Regions from separate parts of the Homo sapiens genome. Here region 1 is linked to region 2. The links are contacts of gene promoters, found by promoter capture Hi-C in blood cells and fetal thymus (Javierre and others, 2016). All regions are on one chromosome and are shown on one strand. Each heading gives the region's core, a stretch centred on a gene start or on the middle of the fragment in contact. The rest is flanking DNA. Distances are from core to core; before and after follow the strand shown. Region 1 has its middle 210 kb from the start of BCL2. Region 2 holds the start of BCL2 (BCL2 apoptosis regulator).

Region 1 (3,418 bases), core at 77-2,576, 210 kb before region 2:
CACTGTCTCATATAATGTGGCAATGGAGACAAAAAAATGTCACCAAGGTGTGGCTATGGAGTGGGAGAGGAGGACTTAGAGGATGTCATTAGCAAATTGCTGGGTGGCTGCCAGGGTGTTGCAGAAGTCTGGTGACTTCATTTGATAATTTGCTGATCATTCAAGTTTATTCCTTTCTAGGTTCCTGTCATCCTCACTGGCTTTGTTTTGCAGCTGAGAGACTGAATATACAAATGGGCAATGGCCAGACCAGATATAAAAATAGAATTCAGACCCACAGTCTACAGCAGCCAGCCCAGGAAACCAGCTCATGACCTACTGTTACCGGCCCAGGAAACAGGTCTGCTATAAATCAGACTTGCAGGAAGTCAGATCACTGTCTGTAGAAACAACCCATGAAGCCAGACAATAACCTCTGTACAATTGCCCCCAAATGGCCAGGAGTTAATTAATAATGGACTGCTTCCTTGATTTTCTTCCCTGATTCCAATTTAGGACCAACCAGAGAAAGCCAATATGCACCTCTAATTATTCATGTAGGATGTCCTGCTTCTAATTAGCCCACCTCCATGTAGGCGCCCCCACCCTATGCCAACAACCTCCCATCAGGGTGAGCTCAAAGCCTTCCCTCTTTGCCATTTTAAAGCTTTCCCACTTATCTGTTTGCCTTTGATTCTCTGCCAAAATGCAAAAGATAGTGAGTGGCCGACTCCCTTAGTATATATAGCAAGCTCTGAATAAATAGCCTTTGCTTTTCTCATTTGGTTGGTCTGCATTTATTTCCACATGCCGTACAACTAGCACATGTGAATTTGGAGGTAAGGACACGTTCTACACTCTTGGACCCAGACAAATTTGGTCTCACGTGATTGGATCAGAGGGACAACACTTGTGGTCTCATGAAGCGCCAAGGCCTTCTTGGTTCCTGTCTTTGTGGCGTGTGGATGACTTCTCTAGGAGCAGGAGATGACTGTGATGGAATAGTGACTAAGTTCTATTTGAACTTGAATTAGTTATGGCACAAATGGGTGGAACATAAAAGAAGTAATTAGTAAAGGCAAATGGGAAAAGCCCAAAATTGGAATTTTGTTTTTAAATAACACTTGGGAGAGAACAAATTAGGAATGAAGACAACCTATTTCCCCATTCCCTGGCACACAGATCTCATTTTAAATAAAACAATAAGGAGGTAAGTTTTAAGTGGTGTCATAGGGAATGTTAGAAGCTAATGTTACTAATCTAAAAACTATCACTGCAAGGAAATATCCAGGTGGTTATGGGGCAGAGATATTGCAGGAAGTCTCTGCAGATATCTCAAATTGTTGGTCTTTGAAAAAAAGGTCCACATGTGATGCTCTCTGCAGTGTCATTGTCAAGATCATAACTAAGTTTATTGTAAGCCATTATCAAGATGCATTCTCATGTTGTGTACCTGGCTCCAAGGACCACAGTTGATTATTATCTTGGGGGACGTTTATTATTCCCTCTCTGTCTTTGTAAATAAAAATGACAAGTCAAAGTTTGGTAGTAGTTGAGAAAATTGTTGACGTGTAATTACAGGAATTTGCTTCTTTGGTTCAGTTTGTTACTTTGAATCTTTACACTGTCTGCGTAGCTATTGTGGATTTATTATTTTCTGTAGCTGCACAGAAAATAATGTTTTAATGGTTTTTCATAATAAATAATATTATTTTCCATTTTATGTGGCATGAAAACTCTTTCACATTCATCACTTTGATCTCCCTGACTCCACTACCCCGTATGAGGCTGGTAGAATATGGTGGGACAAGTGTCACAACCCATTGAACTGATGATCAAAGATGCAAAGAGGCCACATGTTTTGCCCAAAGTCGTGCACTTAGCAAGCCAGAATTCAAACCCTGACCTGATATCAAGAGTTTACTGCCTGTCAAGAGGACTTGCAATCCTTCCACTGGACACATTTCAGATTTAGTTTCCCCTTTGAACTGATAACAACTGTTTCAAAAGTAAGAACCTTTTTGGATTAAGCTTGAAAAAGGAGAATTGAGGGAGTTGGAGAAGATGTTTTCCTGTTTTAACAACTTAATTAACAAGTATGGGGTGAGGTGGGGAGCAGCGGGGGCCTGAAGAGGAAGTCGTTTTGCAGACACATCACTTGTGCATGAGATGTCAAATATCTGTACACAGGGTCTGGTCCGGTGCTATGGTCCAGCATGGTGGCCACCAGCCACATGTGGCTCTTGAGCACTTGAAATGTGGCTCACTCACACTGAGATATGCTGCCACTGTCAATTCCACATTGACTTCAAAGCCTTAGTATGAAAAAAAAAAAATAGCCTATTGTGGTGTTATGATAGGTACTGGTTTTCCTCCGTGGTTCCTGGCTTGTGACTCGCATAGCCTTTGTTACCATCTTTTATTATGATGTTGGGTGTGTTAAGTCTCTGACCTACTTCTGCCCCTTTTCACCTGCCCCAGGGCAGGACTCTACTGCTTTTCTGATTGAGGTTCTTTTCTTTTTTTCAGGCTTAATTCACTTTATTTTTCTTGTATAAAAACCCTATGTTGTAGCCACAGCTGGAGCCTAGGTCCACTGCACAGAGACTCCGTGCAGCTGATTGAGGTCCTTAAGACCTTCCTATGAGTGGTTCCTACCCTGTGCCCTGGGGAAAGGAATGCTGACATCATGAAGCTTCCATAAAAACCCAGCGGACAGGGTTCAAGGAGCCTCCAGACAGCTGAACATGCTGAGGTTCCTGGAGGGTGGCACCGAGGGAGGGCGTAGAAGCTCCACACCCTGTCCCCCATTCCTCATCCCACGTGTCTCTTCATCTGTATCCTTTGCAATATCTTTTACCATAAACCGGTAAACATAAGTAAGTACTTCCCTGAGTTCTGTGAGCTGCTCCAGCAAATTCACTGAAGCCAAAGAGGGGGCTCTGGGGACCCCAACTTGAAGCTTGTTGGTCAGCAGTTCCAAAGGCCTGGACTTCTGACTGGTGTGGTCGGAGGCAGTCTTGGGGACTGAGCCCTCAACCTGTGGGATCTGACAAGGTCTCCAGGTAGACAGTGTTGGAACTGAATTAGAGGACAGCCAGCTAGTGTTCCCTGCTTGGTGTGTGGGGAAAAATACCCATACATTAGGTCACAGAAGTCTTCTGTGTTGATGATTGTTGTGGTATGATGGTAGAGGAAAGACACAGTTTGAGAGTTTTCCCTACATGCCTATCTCAAAATTTTTGTATTATATGTTAACATGATAAATTGGGTTAAATAAAATATATTTAACAATTAATTTCATGGGTTTATTGAAAAAATTTTTAAATGTGGCTACTAACAAATTAAAAATTACATACGCCGGCCAGGTACAGTGGCTCATGCCTGTAATCCTAGCACTTCGGGAAGCTGAGGCAGGCAGATTGCGAGTTCAGGGGTT
Region 2 (3,535 bases), core at 744-3,243:
CTTCAGCTTGAGAAACACTGAAGGGGTACCATTTACCACCACATCCTACTGGATTACAAACGCTAGATCTTTGGATCTCCACGACTAGCAAGCAAGTTAAAGACTTTTAGATGGCAGGCGTTATCGGTCAGGTTGGGAGTGAACGCTTTGTCCAGAGGAGGAGGTAGGGACGCCGGGAAGCAACAACTCTGATTTTATTTCGCCGGCTCCACAGCCTCCCATTGCCCCAGGAGCCCACCCGCACTCCAACCCCCGCATCTCGGACCTGTGGCCTCAGCCCAGACTCACATCACCAAGTGCACCTACCCAGCCTCCGTTATCCTGGATCCAGGTGTGCAGGTGCCGGTTCAGGTACTCAGTCATCCACAGGGCGATGTTGTCCACCAGGGGCGACATCTCCCGGTTGACGCTCTCCACACACATGACCCCACCGAACTCAAAGAAGGCCACAATCCTCCCCCAGTTCACCCCGTCCCTGAAGAGCTCCTCCACCACCGTGGCAAAGCGTCCCCGCGCGGTGAAGGGCGTCAGGTGCAGCTGGCTGGACATCTCGGCGAAGTCGCGGCGGTAGCGGCGGGAGAAGTCGTCGCCGGCCTGGCGGAGGGTCAGGTGGACCACAGGTGGCACCGGGCTGAGCGCAGGCCCCGCGGCGGCGCCGGGGGCAGCCGGGGTCTGCAGCGGCGAGGTCCTGGCGACCGGGTCCCGGGATGCGGCTGGATGGGGCGTGTGCCCGGGCTGGGAGGAGAAGATGCCCGGTGCGGGGGCGGCCCCCGGGGGCGCGGCGCCCACATCTCCCGCATCCCACTCGTAGCCCCTCTGCGACAGCTTATAATGGATGTACTTCATCACTATCTCCCGGTTATCGTACCCTGTTCTCCCAGCGTGCGCCATCCTTCCCAGAGGAAAAGCAACGGGGGCCAACGGCACCTCTCGCCCCAGCTCCCACCCCACGGCCCCCAGAGAAAGAAGAGGAGTTATAATCCAGCTATTTTATTGGATGTGCTTTGCATTCTTGGACGAGGGGGTGTCTTCAATCACGCGGAACACTTGATTCTGGTGTTTCCCCCTTGGCATGAGATGCAGGAAATTTTTATTCCAATTCCTTTCGGATCTTTATTTCATGAGGCACGTTATTATTAGTAAGTATTGTTAATATCAGTCTACTTCCTCTGTGATGCTGAAAGGTTAAAGAAAAAACAAACTAATAAGTAAAAAATCAGGTGCGTTTCCCTGTACACACTGAGTGAAAGCAGGGCATACACACTACAAGTAACACGGCTAAAAAGAATGTATTAAGCTGCCTGGAAATTAAATTTACTCGAATGCACTTTAAGTAAAAAATCTCAAAGGTTTCCATTGAAAGTTACATTAAACCAATTTCCTGTGCAGAGAACTTACTTGTATTTTTTAAGTACAGCATGATCCTCTGTCAAGTTTCCTTTTTGTAAAACCAAAACAAATGCATAAGGCAACGATCCCATCAATCTTCAGCACTCTCCAGTTATAGCTGATTTGAAACTTCCCAATGAATCAGGAGTCGCGGGGAGAGGGAGTAAAAATTAGGAGGATTTCCAGATCGATTCCCAGACTTCTGCTTCACAGAAATGTCAATCCGCAGGAATCCCAACCGGAGATCTCAAGAGCTCGAGAAAAAAAAAAGGCAGCGGCGGCGGCAGATGAATTACAATTTTCAGTCCGGTATTCGCAGAAGTCCTGTGATGTTTTCCCCTTCTCGGCAATTTACACGCGCGCACACACGCGCGGGCACAGGCATGAATCTCTATCCACGGGACCGCTTCACGCCTCCCCAGGAGAGAGACAGGGGAGAGGGGACGATGAAGGAGCCGGGGACGGAGGCAGGAATCCTCTTCTGATTAAACTCCGAACAGCAAATGCATTTTCCGAAAAGCTGCTGGATAAATGAAGGCAGGACGCGCCTGGCCCGCCGGTGCCGAGCGCTAGAAGCCCGCGCTGTGTGTGGTGCGGCGAGGGGTGGGGAGAAGGAGGTGGTGGGGGAGGGTTTTATTTTTTCCCTCTTTTCCTAAAAAGGATGACTGCTACGAAGTTCTCCCCCCTGGACCCCCTCTTCCGCTGCACCCCACCGGCGCACCCCGCCTCCGGGCTGCGCACCCTTTCTCCTCCTCCTGGTCCTGCGCGGCGGCGCTGGCTACGGCCGCCTCCCGGAGCTCCCGCCGCGCAGCCCGCTCCGAGCGCTGACGGCCGCCGGCAGGGAGGGCCCGGAGCCCCGGCACCTTCGCTGGCAGCGGCGGCGGCGGCAGCGCGGCGGGGCCACGGAGAGCGGCGGGCGGGAGCGCGGCGGGCGGGCGGGCAGGCGGCGCGGAGGGGCGGGCGCGGGAGGAAGGGGGCGGGAGCGGGGCTGTGGTGCCTGTCCTCTTACTTCATTCTCTGCACAGCCCGACCGGTTTCCTGTGCGTAACGTCACACGGTTCATTCAAAAAAAGAAGAAAGAAAGAGCCCTCCTCTGAGCCACCCGACCGCCCCCTCCGCCCCGCTCCCTGGCCCGGGTTAAAGGCGCCGCGGCAGGCCCGGGAGTGGCGCGTCCCGCCGGGGGCACATGGCGCGCGGGGCCGCGGCCGGGGAGGGCGCGTCCGGGCCGGCCACCCGCCCGCTCCGCTGCGCCCGCGGGGCCCGGCCAGTGGGTGGCGCGGGCGGCACAGGCCTCCCGCGCGGCCGCGGCGCGGTGGGTGTGCGCGGGGCCTTCTGCTCAGGCCTGCGGCAGGCCGCGTGCGGACTTGGTGGTCGCTGGGGTCCGCGACGGGGTGGGGGCTCCCGGGGAACCGCACGCGGCCGGGCCGGGCGGACGACGGAGTGCGGAGGGGGGCGGCTGGCGGGAGGGTGCGCCATGAAAACAAGGGCTGGAAAAGCGCCGGGAACCGCCTGGACCCTTTCTGGCCGTGTGAGTGTGTGTGGAGTGTGTGTGTGTGTGTGTGTGTGTGTGTGTGTCTCGCCTGGACCTTTTCTAGCCGTGTATGTGGGAGTGTGTGTGTCGCCTGGACCCTTTCTAGCCGTGTATGAGAGTGTGTACACGCGCCTACACACACACACGTTGTGTTACCGGCGCTCGGCCGCCGGGGGAAGACCCAGGCCAATGCCGCCCCCCACCGCCCCCAGCAGTGGGACCTCAGCGCTGCCCTGCTGTGAAGACAGGTGACTCTGCACGTTTTAAGCAATGTCTAGGGACGCCCCGAGCGTGGTGTTTACTTTCAAGTAGCTTCCTAGGTGTCCGCGCACTACACACGCACGCGCATCCCCGCCCGTGTCCACCTGAACACCTAGTCCGTGGCCCAGGCCATGCAGAACTCAGCGCTCCAGGGAAGGGGTTTATCAAGGGCTTTACGACAGTTTAAGTCAATGTTTTCCCTCTGTCCCTAACACCTTTTACACTGGTTTAGTGCTACACGATGAGGACTTCCATATAGTAACTTTCAGGCCCACCGTCCTAACGCTGGGGTGGGTGGGCTCCTAAAGGTCTCCACCTTTGCCTCGTAGCCAATCCTAGTTGGCCGCACTTTCT

The links. Contacts are between HindIII fragments. The CHiCAGO score rates a contact against its expected background, and 5 or more counts as called.
Region 1: a fragment that was not itself captured here is called in contact with the fragment with the promoter of BCL2 in region 2 in 16 of 17 cell types (activated CD4 T cells, total CD8 T cells, total CD4 T cells and 13 more); the score reaches 23.7 in activated CD4 T cells.

The regions. Positions count from the first base shown.
Region 1 is chr18:63,111,988-63,115,405 of GRCh38, forward strand. No RefSeq gene overlaps it. Among named protein-coding and RNA genes, the nearest start is that of BCL2, 210 kb to the right of the region's middle. The HindIII fragment of the contact is 1,364 bases long and covers 645-2,008 here.
Region 2 is chr18:63,317,776-63,321,310 of GRCh38, forward strand. It overlaps BCL2 (BCL2 apoptosis regulator), which reads right to left and starts at 1,994. Exons shown (of 3, transcript NM_000633.3): 1 at 1,399-1,994; 2 at 307-1,177. The coding sequence starts at 891. RefSeq lists silencers at 616-855, 2,211-2,400, 2,561-2,770, 2,801-2,870. The HindIII fragment of the contact is 7,545 bases long and covers 1-3,535 here.